2 separate regions of the Homo sapiens genome follow, and region 1 is linked to region 2. The links are contacts of gene promoters, found by promoter capture Hi-C in blood cells and fetal thymus (Javierre and others, 2016). All regions are on one chromosome and are shown on one strand. Each heading gives the region's core, a stretch centred on a gene start or on the middle of the fragment in contact. The rest is flanking DNA. Distances are from core to core; before and after follow the strand shown.

Region 1 (6,395 bases), core at 857-3,356, 640 kb before region 2:
GAATGTTTTTTTTTAAGATTCCCAGTTAAGTATCCCTTCAGATGAAAGGATAAAGTTATTATATAGCTGTCTTTCAGAAATTGGCTCCTGAGTGGAGCAACACAAGACCTAAAGTAGTTGCAGTCCATCCATCTCAATGGTGATGCCCTGAAGAGATTGTTCGGTAGCTCCTGCTACCTAGATACGCAGAGATGCCCTGATTCCTGGCCATCCTGATCCTGGGTCTGCAGCTTTTCTTGCTGTCTTCCAGTGAATTTACTTTTTGTCTCTTTTTCCCCTCTTTTCCTACCTTAACTAGATTTGGTGTTTGCTTGCAACCAAGAATTCTAACATAAATGCACTAAAAAAACCTTGTTTAATATCATGATTTAATCTTTCTCCCTCTGTAGCAGCAGAGAGAAATTTAAGATGCATTACTAAATGCCCTATCTGAAGGAACTTGTGTCTTTAATACTTCAGTTGGAACTTTGCAGGCCTGTCTCTGATCAAACTCTGCAAGGAATTAAGCGGCTTTTATGGCCTTCTTTAAAATGTGTCCTAGACAGCTTAGATTTTACTAGGGAAAAAAAGGGAATGGGTTGGTTGGTTTCTTTATTGCTTCCTTTGTCTCCATGGTCCATTGTTTAACTTCATGCTGTAGTCTATATTCTCCAAGAGGAAGGAAAACATTTTATTTCCCCATTTCAAAAGTGATGCATGCCTATGATAGAAAATACCAAGAGACAAAACAATGAAAACAAAACCACCCATAATCACCAGATAATTACCTCTTAACATTTTCCTGTACTTACAGTCTTTAATATGTAATATATATAAAGTATATGATGTATATAAAGTAAACATATGTAATGTTTACAAATGGGATCGTATTGTTTTATAAACTTAAAATTACTTAATATTTGGCAATTTTTGCATGTCATTAAATTATTTTCAGTGTGATTTTTAATAGTTGCATAGCAGTCTTGCTGTATTAGTTACTACTCACATTTAGTAAATCTAAAATTTTGCATTCTTTTTATGAGCACTCATAAAAATTGATTAGTTTTCTGTTCTGAAATTGGTGGAAATATTGCCCATTGCTATCCACAGCCCACACTGATGTCCAGCATATATTACTAATCTCTTTGCTGTAGAACGACCAGTGTTAAATGAAGTAGGTGTTTTTTTTGTTTTGTTTTGTTTTTTTGTGATTCAGGTTATAAGCTTTGCACAGAACTTGTCATGCTGGAAAAGTTACAGAAAAAGTGAAATGACCTTCAGTCCAGCAGGCCTTCTGCAACTTCTATCTTTGATAACAGTCTGCCCTAAGAGAGAGTTCATGTATAAGCCTTTTGTTATCAATACTCTTTAATCTCATACTTGTACCAAGCCCACAAAGGTATGCTAATGAGAGCTCTAACACTCCTGGACTTGACTGAAAATTTTTCTCAGTAGGTTTCAGAAAGTGCTGAGAGGTGTAAGCCCAGCAACGTGCAAGGGGAAAGGGGACAGGATTCTGGATGGCCATTTGCTTCACTGGGATGCAAAACCTCTTTTGAGTACTAGAATCAGGTAAGGACAGCTATGTTTTCTTGGGGAAGGAGGGAAGGAGGGCTCTTGAATTATCCTATTGTCTCAGAGATCTTGAAGAGACCCTAAAGCTTCAATTTATCTCATAGCTTTGGAACCCTCTTTTGCCAAATTGTTACCTTTTACTCTCTCCTTGAAAAACAGGGACCCCGTTATGTGAAGATGTGGCAAACGGCTTGCTATTGTGCCATGAGAGCCTCATTACTGAGTTTTCAGGATTATTACAGATTAAGTGTGAACCATTATAAAATCTAGAATCCTTTAAGATATAATTATTGGCTTAGCTCTACCAAGGAGTGTTTCATTCTAAAGGCAGGGAAGGCATCTGCTTTAACATTCAAATTCAGATTTTAATCACCAATGAGAAATAAATAGTGCTAACCCAAGTTTTAAGTTCCTTAAAGGTGGTGGTCAAGTTAGCTAAAGTGGTTCAAAAAGAATGTTACTGTGTTGGCAACAATTCTGGCAGCTAAACAGAATGATGAAACACATGAGGTAGATCATTCAAGTCCACGTAATAGGTGGAAACACTAATGTTAAATCAAGTGCCATTGTTGAGTGGCATAAAATATCATCAGCTCACCAACGCAAAACTAGAAACAAAAAAGAAGTATTATTTTGTACCCTCTCTGTTTGATACACAGGCTTCTAACACATGACCACATTTACATACACAATCTGCCTGTCCATGCTCTGGGGTTGGGAGGTCCAGCTGTCAGTCATCTTGGCTAGTAGGAAGGCTTAGAGAACCAAAGCCCTGAGCAAAAACTAGAGATACTGGGTTTGAAGTTTGCTGGTGAAACAGCTGCTAATGAGTAGTAATTATCTGTAGATCCTTAGAGTTCAGAGGCATGTCTTAGATGTGTTTCCTGACTCCTGGAAACTGACAATAGAAGTTGATCATAAGTCACAGATCTGACTTGTTTTGCTCCACATTTGAAGTTGTCCCTGCTGCTGGTGGTTAAGGGCATTATGGTGGTGATAAGTGGATGAGGAAAGCTTCCCAATAACCAGAAAATTTGGGAAGATGTTCCAGTCTCTTTGCCCACTCCCAGTTCAGCCTACCCTCTGAAGTGTCTGCTGTTAGACTGATCTTTCACCTCTAGCCCAGGAATTGCAAAATCAAATGCTTGCACAGACCAGGTAGTAACTTAGATAAATAAGGCCTGCTGGGTAGAGATTGGCAGGTTGAAGAATATATCCCCCATCTAAAGAGAACAACAGCACTGAGTTTTAGGAAACTCTTGGCACACGGGAATGCTGGCTCAGTGTCATCATATTTTACGAATTATTTTAGGAGATAATTTGAAATTTCAGGATTGTAAATGTAAACTCTTTATAAACTCTGAATGCTATTTTTTTATATCTTGTTACCTAAGTCAAATTGAATAAAAAATTGACTGTACTAAATACATCTACATTGTTGCCATTTATTAACTCTTGGGGGTAGCAGCATCTTAGCCACAAATCCCCTATTTTGGGGGCAAATCCTGGGATTCCAATACCATTTCACCTCTCAGGCTTCCTAAAGCACAGGTTAAGAAAATGGGCTCTGAAGGTCCCACCTGTGATTCCAATCATCCTTTAACACTAGCCTCCTGTAAATTCCCTTAAAGGACAGGGAAGAGCACAGACTCTTTGCTACTTTGGAATCTATTAAAAAATGCTACCAGTTTGAGCATTTATTGAACAAAAGAAGTACTGTTGCTTCATCTCATCTTATTTTTATAAGAAATTTATGAGATAGGTTTTATAAGAACTTTGAGATAAGATGATCATAATCATATTCCTATTTATAGATGGTGAAGCTGATGTTCAGTATTGGGGGAGGATTTCCCAAAGTCATCCAGTAAGTGGCAGAAATGAAATTTGACTGCTGGAGTCAGATTTCAAAACTAAATTTTTAACCACCATATTATATTTCTTTCTATTACATTATATGGGGTTTTAACTTGTATAGTTCCTCTGAGTAATGATTAATTCTCCCTCCCTTAAAACATCTTAAGGAATCTGTAATGACATTTGATACTTTTGTAGAACATAGGAACATTTTAAATTCTCATCCTTTGATACAGGGTTTGCAAAGTGTTTGGGATCCTTCTGATCACTGAAGGGGGATGTTTTTTGTAATGCCTGCCTTCAGACCAGAGGTACTAATTCCCTTTTCCATGCCCATTTCTCACCAGATAGTAATTGAAAGTTAAAACATAGAGTGTAAAGGCCAAAGTTACGGGTTTCACCTCCAGGTGAACAAGATAATTCTACTAAGTCCATGACCACAGAGTACTGTCCTAACCCCAGCCAGCCTTCTCCCAAATACAAGAAGTATGCGTGCATCAGTCATCCTTGTTAACAGAGGCACTCTCAGCCCAGACCCATGTACAGATCCATAAACAGCATCATCGCCATAAATGAAAGCAGTGTGATATGGCTGAGGAATGCAAATAGATTTTAGCTCAGTTGAGCTCAGTGGCCAATGCTAAATCATGAATGGTTGCTGCCAGGAGGAGTGTTGTGTTGAGAAAGATTTGGAAACCACATTCGAGCTTTTCAAAAAGAATGCTGTAATTGATTGGTCTTGTCTGCCATGGGCTTGGTCTATGGAATGAGTGGTAAGTGCTCTGTACTTGTCGTTCTTGGTATAGTCTATTAATATGAAAGAGCTAAGATATCTTAACCTCGGTTGGCTTAAAGCATTTGCATTTTAATTTGTGATTTCTTCCTCTTCAGTATTTCTTCTTCCATCTCTGCTGTACCTGAGAAGAAATGGCCAAACGCACCTTCTCTAACTTGGAGACATTCCTGATTTTCCTCCTTGTAATGATGAGTGCCATCACAGTGGCCCTTCTCAGCCTCTTGTTTATCACCAGTGGGACCATTGAAAACCACAAAGGCAAGTGTCATGGGCTCTCTTAGATGCAATTTTTAGGCCTGTATGAAACTTCTTGATTACTGTGGACACCAAAGAGAAAAACAGTGTCTGCTGATAGTTCTACGTGTACTTAAGCAGCCTGGAATAGCCGTCTCCCTTTGCATTAATTGCCCATTCTGCATTGATAGCAATTTTTATCAAGTTTACCTTTGTCCCCAATAGCCAGCTGACAGGCATTCTGACATGTACTTGTTTGCCATTAGTTTTTCCATTGATCTAAGCACAGCTCAAGATTCGTCAAGGTCTAGTAATGGCAGCTTTTACCATGAGCCTCTAATCTTTCAATTTGCCTCCTTGTAGACATCATTTTCTCCTGGGGGCAAAAGGAGAATGAAAGACTCACTGAATGAATGTCAATTAGTCTGTGAAGAGCTTTAGAGAAAGGGGTCTCAAACGTAAATCCTTACAAGGGCTAATCAAGTTTTGCAGATGAGGTGGAGTGAGGAGGTGGACCAAGGAGGAGACAGGTGCAATTCTTGTGAAGAAGGCCTACAGCCTCTCCCAGGTGGCAGCTGTTTGTTGTAGAGAGAACACATGATCTCAGATCTCCTGAGTTTTCCAGAGAACCTGGAAATTGGAATTTTTAGATATCTCATGATTTTTTAAAATGTTGGAAACAAAGTTTTTGAGAACAACGTAGGCTACATTTACACAAAGATTGGCAGTGGGTCTTGGTGGAGCCTCTGTTCCAGTCAGTGTTAGGTTACATAACTGTTAAATGAGTAGAGAAGACTGGTAAAGATTGAAGCTCTGACCAAAGTAAAGACAGGGCTGGCCTTAGGCCAAATGGAGAAGATGATATTTTCTACCTCAGTTTTCCCTTTTGTAGCCTGTCTCTTTTCCTGCACATTCTCTACTATGTCCCAGGGCTTTGAATTCCTGGCAAACACAGAGGATCAGAGATCCTCTGATCCAGCAGTAGGCACAGCAGGGTCATAGACTGATAGAAGTGAAAGGATCATTAAGAATTATTCAGTTTTGGCTGGGCCCGGTGGCTCACACCTATAATCCCAGCACTTTGGGGGACCAAGGTAGGCAGATCACCTGAGGTCAAGAGTTTGAGACCAGCCTGGCCAACGTGGCAAAACCCTGTCTCTGCTAAAAATTAAAAAAAAAAAAAATAGCTGTTTGTGGTGGTGCACGCCTGTAATCCCAGCTACTCGGGAGGCTGAGGCAAGGCAGGAGAATCGCTTGAACCCAGGGGTCAGAGGTTGCAGTGAGCTGAGATCACGCCACTGCACTCCAGTCTGGGTGACAGAGTGAGACTCCATTTAAAAAAAAAAAAGAAAAATAATTATTCAGTTTTAGCTCTTAAAATTAGGAAATCAGGAGGCTGAGACTCAGGGAGGTTATTATTAATTACAGCAACTATTCTTATGGCAGTAGTTACTGTTTATTAAATGGTTTCTATGTTGAGCACTATAGTGAGGATTCTAGAATATTTTCTCATCTAATTCTCACAAAAATCCTATAAGGGTGGATGCTAGTCCTACTGTTTACATTAGTTTCATTTTACGCTTGGGGAAACGGAGACCCTGAGATTGTAAATAACTTACCCTTGGCTATGTGTTAGGTTTGGCTTTAGTTGGCATGACATTCCTATGCTGGTAGCAGTGAAGCAATAGCGAAGGTGCCTGCTCCACTCCTTGCAATATTTGATGTCTTCAAGAAAATCTCGGCTTGGGAATGAGAAGACATGGATGCTAACTCCACCTAGAATTTGGTCGAAAGAGCATCAGATCCTGAGTTTGAGGATCTGGATTGCATACCAGATTCATCACATGCTCTCCATTAACTATTGGTTAAGTCACTTTTCTGACTTTCAGTTTTCTCATCTGCAAAACTGAGGAGATTATGTTAGGTGATCTCTAAGTTTTTTGAGCTCTGAATTTCC
Region 2 (7,065 bases), core at 1,102-3,601:
TTGGCACTGGGAGCAATGGAAGGAAGGACAGACAGATGCAGGCTCTACACAGGGGAGCCGCAGGTGGGGACTCAGGGTCCTCTTCACCTCCGCAAGGAGCGCGATGGCTTCGCTGGCCTCGGTGCTCCAAGCCCCATTGGACAAGAGAGAAAGGGATATGGAACGGGTCACAGGGAGGGGATTTGGGCAGAAGTCAAGGTTGAGGAGTGGCTGGGGTACTCGCTGGAGGAGGTGGGCCCTGAGCCAGAGCTGGCCAGTGGGCTTGCAGAGCAGCCCCCTTGACCCAAGGCGGTTGGGTGGGCTGGAGGAGGAGTGGGGATGCTAGCTGCGGGTGTAGTAGTAGTTGTAGTCGTCCTCGCACGCATCAAAAGGGCCAGGCGGGCTGCGAGGCTCGCCGTCCTGGCCAGACACAGGACGCTCACGCAGGCGCACCGCATCGTACAGACCTTGCGGTGGCTCATCAAGCAGCACATCGCGCTCGGAACGGGAGCGCGTCAGGAGGCCCACGTTGCGGAGCAGCAGCAAGACGGGAGCATAGAGCAGGTTGGCCAGTCCCATGCCAAGGCTGAGCTGCTCAAAGCCCAGCGAGTGCACAATGTGGCCTGCCACTATGGGCCCGAGCGCGTAGGCCACCGAATAGGAGATGTCGGCGATGGCGTAGACGCTGCCATAGACTGAGACATGGCGCACGTCCACCAGGAAGGCGAGCGTGGGCAGCAGTGCTGTGTCGACTAGGGCTATGCCAAAACAGAGGCCGCATAGTGAGACCACTAGCGGCGCGAAGGAGCGGCAGGCGGGCACGATGCACGAGCTGGCGCCGATCACAGCCAGCCCAAGCGCGCCGTACAGCCACTGCAGGTGTGGGTAGCGCGCCGCCAGGCGCACGGTGAGGTAGACGCCCAGCACATGAGGCACGAAGGCCGGCAGCCAGGCCATGCCCATCTCCCACTCGGAAGCCGCCATCGTATGCTTCATCCACGTGGCAATGGTGGGTTCGAGGAAGGCGAGGGGAATGTTACAGGTGGTGAGCGCGCCGGCCACCACGGCAATGTAGGGGTCTAGCATGAGGCGGTGGATGGGAGTGCCCACTGGCAGGTTGGCCCGAGCCCGTGCAGCCGCCGAGAAGGGTTTGGCCACTGCCAGCAGCAACAGCGCGTCAAAGAGCGACACGGCAGCTAGCACCAAGAAGGGCACGCGCTTGCCGGCGAACTCATAGAGGATGCCCCCGAAGGGCGGGGCCACTAGGCTTCCGAAGCTAATGAAGGCCAGCGCCACGCCCAGTGCACGACTGCGCTCCGGCTCCTCCGGGTACTTATCGGCGATCATGGCTATGCCAGACGTGTCGGCGAAGGCTGAGCCCAGGCCCTGCAGGCTGCGCGCCGCGAACAGCGTGGCGTAGTCCTCGGCGAAGGCGAACAGGACTGTAGAGGCGAACATGACGCCCAGGCCGATCAGCAGCGGCACGTCGTAGCTCATGCGGTCGATGAAGGGCCCGCTCAAGGGGTTCACTAGCAGCTGCAGGATAGCCTTGGAAGCAAACAGCACCCCGATCTTCACGTCTTCGCTCTCCGTAGGGTAGCGGGGCCGAAGGGCTGAGCCCGCTGGCCACGCAGCTGTCGGGGACGCCGAGGTGTTGGCCGTGTAGGCGCTGGCATTGGCCGGAGTGGGCAGCGGCAGGGTGGGCTCCCACACCTCGGGAGTCCGGGTGGGGCCCTCGCCGCCCCCGCGCATGTGGGCGATGTAGTCGGGCACTATGGGCACGATGACCATGTACAGCATGTTGTCCAGTAACAGCGCCACGCACACGATAACAAGCACCAGGCGCCTCTGCCGCCGGGGCTCCTGCAGCGCCGCGCCCACAGCCTCCGACAGCTTGGTGGCCGCCGCCCGGGCCTGGCCCGCAGGTTCCGCGGATTCCATGCCCCCACCCCGATGCTCTTCCGAGGACGCCTCCGCCAGGGCCGAGCGCTGGCGTCCCGCAGTGCAGAGGCGAGGGCACGGGACTTCGGGGAGGCTGTCCTGGCCGAGCAGACTCCCCTGTGCCTCAGGTGGCCGCGGAGCTCATGGCCCAGCGTCCCGGGAAAGGAAAGGACTCCGTCCGGCGAGGCGTTGCAGCTACTCTTAGCCGATCCCGGGACCCGCGGCTGCTGGGCTCAGGGGCGGCCGGGAAGTCGGGCGCGCCGAGGGGCCGGGGCCGGAGACTGGGCGCACTTCGCCCGGGGCGCGCCCAGAGCAGCCCCCGCCGCGCTAAGAGGCCGCCCGCGCTGGCCGAGGGACATGCTGTTGCCGCCCGCCCGCTTGCCCGCCCGTTAGCCCCGCCGCTGCGCTCCCCTCCCCTCGCGTCGGCTCTTGCCTCCTCCGCCGCCTCCTCTTTTTTTTTCCCTTCCACTCGGGGCTGTGACGCGGCGAGTCCCAGCCCCCGAGTGGTGCCCGGGCCACTTACGTCGCTCATGCTAATGCGACGTCGGCGGGGCGGGGGCCGGGGGCGGGGCGTGGCCGGGCAGGGGTCCGCTCTCCAGATGCTCCAGGGCTGGAGGCCCAGGAAGGGCTCTCGGTGTGGAAGTCTTGAACCAGCCCCTGGGATGGGCGTTCCGCGCCGGTAGCTGGCCCTCTGCCCCCCGCCCCCTGCCTGCCCCCCGCCCGCGGTTCTAGGACTCGCGGGGTCAGCGCCCGCTCTTCTCCTCTTGGGGAAGGGGGCGCGGCAGCCGGTTCCTCGAGGCCCCTTGGGAGAGGCGGGAGCCAGAGGCTTGCGATCTCCGCTTCAGCCTGGACCTCGGCGCACAGCGAGCAGGAAGCCCCCGAGGTGAGCCGCCGCTGCGTCCATCTGTTCTCGCAGCTGGATTGTGGAGCCGCGTCCGGAGGAGCGCTGGACACGGACACCCCCAACCCTTTCTCCGACTCCGCCCCCTGGCCCCTTGCACACACACTCCCGCCAGGAGGGGAGGGGAAGGCTCAGCAACTGCCTGGCCTGGCTCTGACCCACCGGCCCCTCCGCAGAATTTCTCGGCCGCGAATCGCGGCCGGGAGCTTGTGGGGACTGAGGGCAGAAGTTGCCGCGCCCCAGTCGGGGTCGCGAATATTAGCCTGGCCGCTGCCGCCCTCCCGCACTGCCTGGCCACATTCCCCTTGCCTGGAATCCCCCTTTCTCCTTTAGCGGTCTGGTCCCCCAGCTCCGCCTCTTCTCTCCCCGCCGCCGCACCCCCTCCCCACTCTAACTCCTCCCAGGCACTCTTCGCACCCGACCAAGCCCTCCCTCGGCTCCTGCCAGCCTCCGCCCCCTGTTCTGCACACTCCCCCATCCCTCATTTTCCAGAGCCTCCTCCAAGCCCCGGGTGGGCTCTGGAGTGACTGTGGCTGGGGTCCTCTCTTGGAACTGTAAGAAACCCTTCTTGGGTGCCGCGCCCACTCCCCGGAGAGCGCCCAGCCGCTTCGCTGTCGTCAGGGGCTCCAGGGAGACTCACCTTCCTTCTGAGAGGGCCGCACCCCTTGAGGCGCCCGTGCTCAGCTGACAGGCTGAGCTGCCCAGGCTGTGCGCTGGGCCTGACGCGTCCCCAGAGCGGCGTTGACCCTGGATGGCACATGGAACCCGTGTTCCAGTGGGCGGACTGGCGGGAGAGAGGCTCCAGGGCGGCTGAGGTTGGAGGTGGGGATTGTGTTGTTGAGATTACGGTTTGCGTCTCTCTTCCAGAGTCAGAGGGGAGCCTTCCCATTTTTCTGGCCTCAAAAGTAAAGCAGCATTAGACGCAGATGCTTCTCCCATTGTGCCCCCCACCCCGCAGGAAGTGCCGCGATGCAGTGCAAAGAGTGTGGTCTTTCGAGGCAGACAACCAGGATGGCTCCCAGCTCTGCCACGTACTCATTAGAGTACCTGCAGGGAATTACTTTGCCTCTCTGTCCCTCAGTTAGTTTCTTTGTAAAATTGAATAATAATAGTACCTACTGCTAAGGGGGCCGGGCACACAGTAAGAGCAGTATAAGGACTTGCTATGTTGTTATCGTGTGTAGAATGTGCGGTTTATCCTCATTTTTCACTTGTGGGTCTTGTGAAGAACAGATGAAAGACACAGGGGGCACTTGGCTAGCTGGCTGATCCCTCTGGCTAGGTGGGCATTGTGACTCCAGGCTCTGTCTGGGTTGGTGGAGGACCCGGAGGGCATTGGAATGTCTCCATCTGTCCCTGAGATGGCTGTAGGATGAGGGGATGGGGACCAATGTGTCAGGGTGAGAGGCGGCAGCCTGGCCACCTGTTGCTCAATTCCTTCACCCACCCAGTCACCCTGGGAAAGGAGAAACTCATCCACTGAAGGGCTGCTGCCACCTGCTCTGCAGTGACTGAAGTGCCCTCTGTCTGAGGGAGGAAAAGAGTCCCAATGTGGGCACAGGCCTGGCCCTGGATGACCTTGGGCAAGTCACAGCCCCTCAGTGGGGCCCAGCCTCAGCCTCCGTCTGGTTCAGGTTGAGGTGAGAGCCCACTCACTGCAGCCCTTAGCAGAAGTGCGTGCTGCAGAAGACTCTTTGGAGTGGGCTAATTATTTTAAATTGTATTTGATGGCCTTTCGTCAGTACATGCACACTCTCCAGCACATCCCAATCTCGCCCCAGCTGACTTCACACACTTATGCCACTTGCTGGTTCTCCAGTCATTTCCGTTTGAGACCTCTGGGCTCTTCTGACTCTCCCATTATGAGGCTCTTAAAGGGGCAGTCTCCCAGCCTACAAAACAATTATTATTTATGCACATGCTATTTCCCCTGTCTGATTAAAGAAAGGAGGAAGGAGGACTTGAAGGACAATTTTTTTTTATGTCTAGTGGCTGAAGAACAGAGGAATCATAGAGGACAGGAACTTTCCCAGGGCCTTCAAGGTGCAGACCACATCTCCAGCCCTCTGGCCCACATGGCTGTTCCTGAGCATGAAGCCAGGTATCTCTGGGCTCATGACTAGCTCTCCAGTCCTCGGTTCCTGTATGGCAGGAGGCACACTCATTTATTACTTGCTTTGTGCCAGGAGTATTGTGTGTGCTGTTTTACTCCATTCTCCTGCAATCCTGGTGCAGTGTAGGTGCTATTCCCCTGGTCTTATCAGGTGAGGAAGCTGGGCGTGGAGATGCTGGGTGCTTGCCCAAGCTCCCAGCAGCAGATCCTGGAATTAAACCCAGGCTGGGGGACCTGTCTTGTGGTCCTCACACTGCTTCCCTATTCCCGGCACGGCGTCGTGCTCCTGCTGCTCCATCTCCAAGGTGGCCGCACGCTGGCAGTGTAGGGGTGAGGAGCAGATCAAGACCCATGGGAGGAGGAAGGTCCTGGGCTGGCTCCCTAAGGAGGCTCCAAAGACACTAAACTCCCTCATTCTCTAACTTTCAGATCAGAGGGCAACGCCCCCCCAATCCATCGTGGCTCCAAATACGGGAGTGCCGGGGTTGCAAGGAGGCGTCAGGCCCCTGCAGCAAAAGGCTACGGGAGGGTCTGAGCCGAGATGGGACCTGGCAAAGCCTCTTCTCCCCGCCAGCCGCCGGGAGCTGTCCAGGGTGCTGGCCCCGGCCCCACCGCAACCAAGAAGCCTCCCACGGAGGCCCCGCCCCTCTGGCTTCCTCTTCACTTGAACGCTTGGTAAATTCCTTTCCGGACTCCTCTATCTGAGCATAACTTGCAGGCAACAGAGAACTTCCTGTCCAATCCTGTAGGAGAAAACGGAAGCATTTTTCTCTCCTTTCTCAACCAGAAATAGCAGCTGTTAGGGCAGCGTTCATATCTGGTACTCAATTAAAGTTGAATGAGTAGAGGAAGGAAGGAACGTATTTACTAGACACATAGTAGAGCTTATAAGGCATCAGGCACCGTTCTAAGCATTTGATAAGCACTAACTCATTGAATTCTCTCACCAACCTTCATATTACTTTCTTATAGGCAAAGACACTTAGGTAAAGTAATGTATTCAGTCAGAGAGCTCACAAGTGGTAAAGATGGGATTCCCATGCAGGTGATTTAGTTCCAGCTTCCTGCTCCCAGCCACCATGTGGCCCTGCTGCAGGATGGCTAAAGACTGCGAGATAGCTCACTTGAACATGTCTAGCCCAATGCTTGATACCTAGTAGGAGTTTAATTGTTATTATTTTATATGGATAGAGACAAATTGGTGATTTCTAGCTGACAACACTTCTTCTCATTTTATCCACAAGATACAACTGTGTCCACAGTCTGATGGACTAAAATTTCTTCCTTGCTGGATCAGTGCCCTGTCAGGGGAGGGGGGCTTGCTGGGGATGGGGGAGTCCTGGTGTGTGGGAGTTTGGGAGGGGTGGAAGGATAGCCATGCTGCACCAGTGCCTGGGTGAGGTCTAGGGGGTGTTTGGAGGTCTTGGGTGGGTTGTGGTGGTGGGGTGCTGCTGTGGATGGAGGTGCCAGCCCAGCCTGGCCTCATTTCTGAGAAGGTTGTGGGGCCATGTCATTTCCAGGGCTTTGCCATTTGTTGCTTCCCTGAAACATCTGGTTCCAGAGAGGTGAAACCACTGTATTTCTGTGGAGAAGCAGGCTGGTGTTGGTGATGGCAGTGTGTGGGTGGGGCACCTGCTCCTGATTTATTATTTCTTTGTCTCTCTGGAAGCACTTAAGCACAGGCTTCGTTCCAATCGAGCTCATGAGCCTCTCTGGATTCCAGCACTGGGGGCTAGGGGTGCAGTTTGCTCAGGGCTCCATAACCCATCCCCTGTGCACCGGCTCAGGCGGGCCTCAGCATCATTTAATTAATTTAGGCTTCCCCAGTCATATATTCTCAGATTCAAAGGAACAAAGTGGCCCCAGTCAGCCTTTCCCAGAAACCTGTGAGTGTGGTGGCTGGAAGCCAGAGGACTACGTGCCTGCCTGCCTGCCCTTGGCCAGCCTGTCCTCGGTGCCCAGACTTGCTTTGTGCACAACATAGCTGGGCTTCGAGAGGGAAAGAGACTGCAGGTGCTGCTTTGTGGGTGGGCCCCAGGGCTCCTCTCTACAGCTCCCAGGGACAGGACCTTGCTCACTTGCTTTTTTTCTGGCTCCCTGACACTAACTATGAATCATTCGTTGGAAGCAT

What was found. The method cuts DNA at HindIII sites, captures the fragments that hold promoters and counts their contacts. A CHiCAGO score of 5 or more calls a contact.
Region 1: a fragment that was not itself captured here is called in contact with the fragment with the promoter of SLC18A3 in region 2 in 10 of 17 cell types (M2 macrophages, M0 macrophages, fetal thymus and 7 more); the score reaches 16.1 in M2 macrophages.

The regions. Positions count from the first base shown.
Region 1 is chr10:50,246,551-50,252,945 of GRCh38, reverse strand. ASAH2 (N-acylsphingosine amidohydrolase 2) reads left to right here and starts at 1,430. Exons shown (of 21, transcript NM_019893.4): 1 at 1,430-1,551; 2 at 4,300-4,462. The coding sequence starts at 4,336. RefSeq lists a silencer at 1,183-1,477. The HindIII fragment of the contact is 928 bases long and covers 1,643-2,570 here.
Region 2 is chr10:49,605,596-49,612,660 of GRCh38, reverse strand. It overlaps SLC18A3 (solute carrier family 18 member A3), which reads right to left and starts at 2,351. Exons shown (of 1, transcript NM_003055.3): 1 at 1-2,351. The coding sequence starts at 1,920. The coding sequence ends at 322. It also overlaps a transcript of CHAT not described here. RefSeq lists enhancers at 1-482, 483-1,379, 2,424-3,218, 3,219-4,014 and a silencer at 5,384-5,678. The HindIII fragment of the contact is 17,270 bases long and covers 1-7,065 here.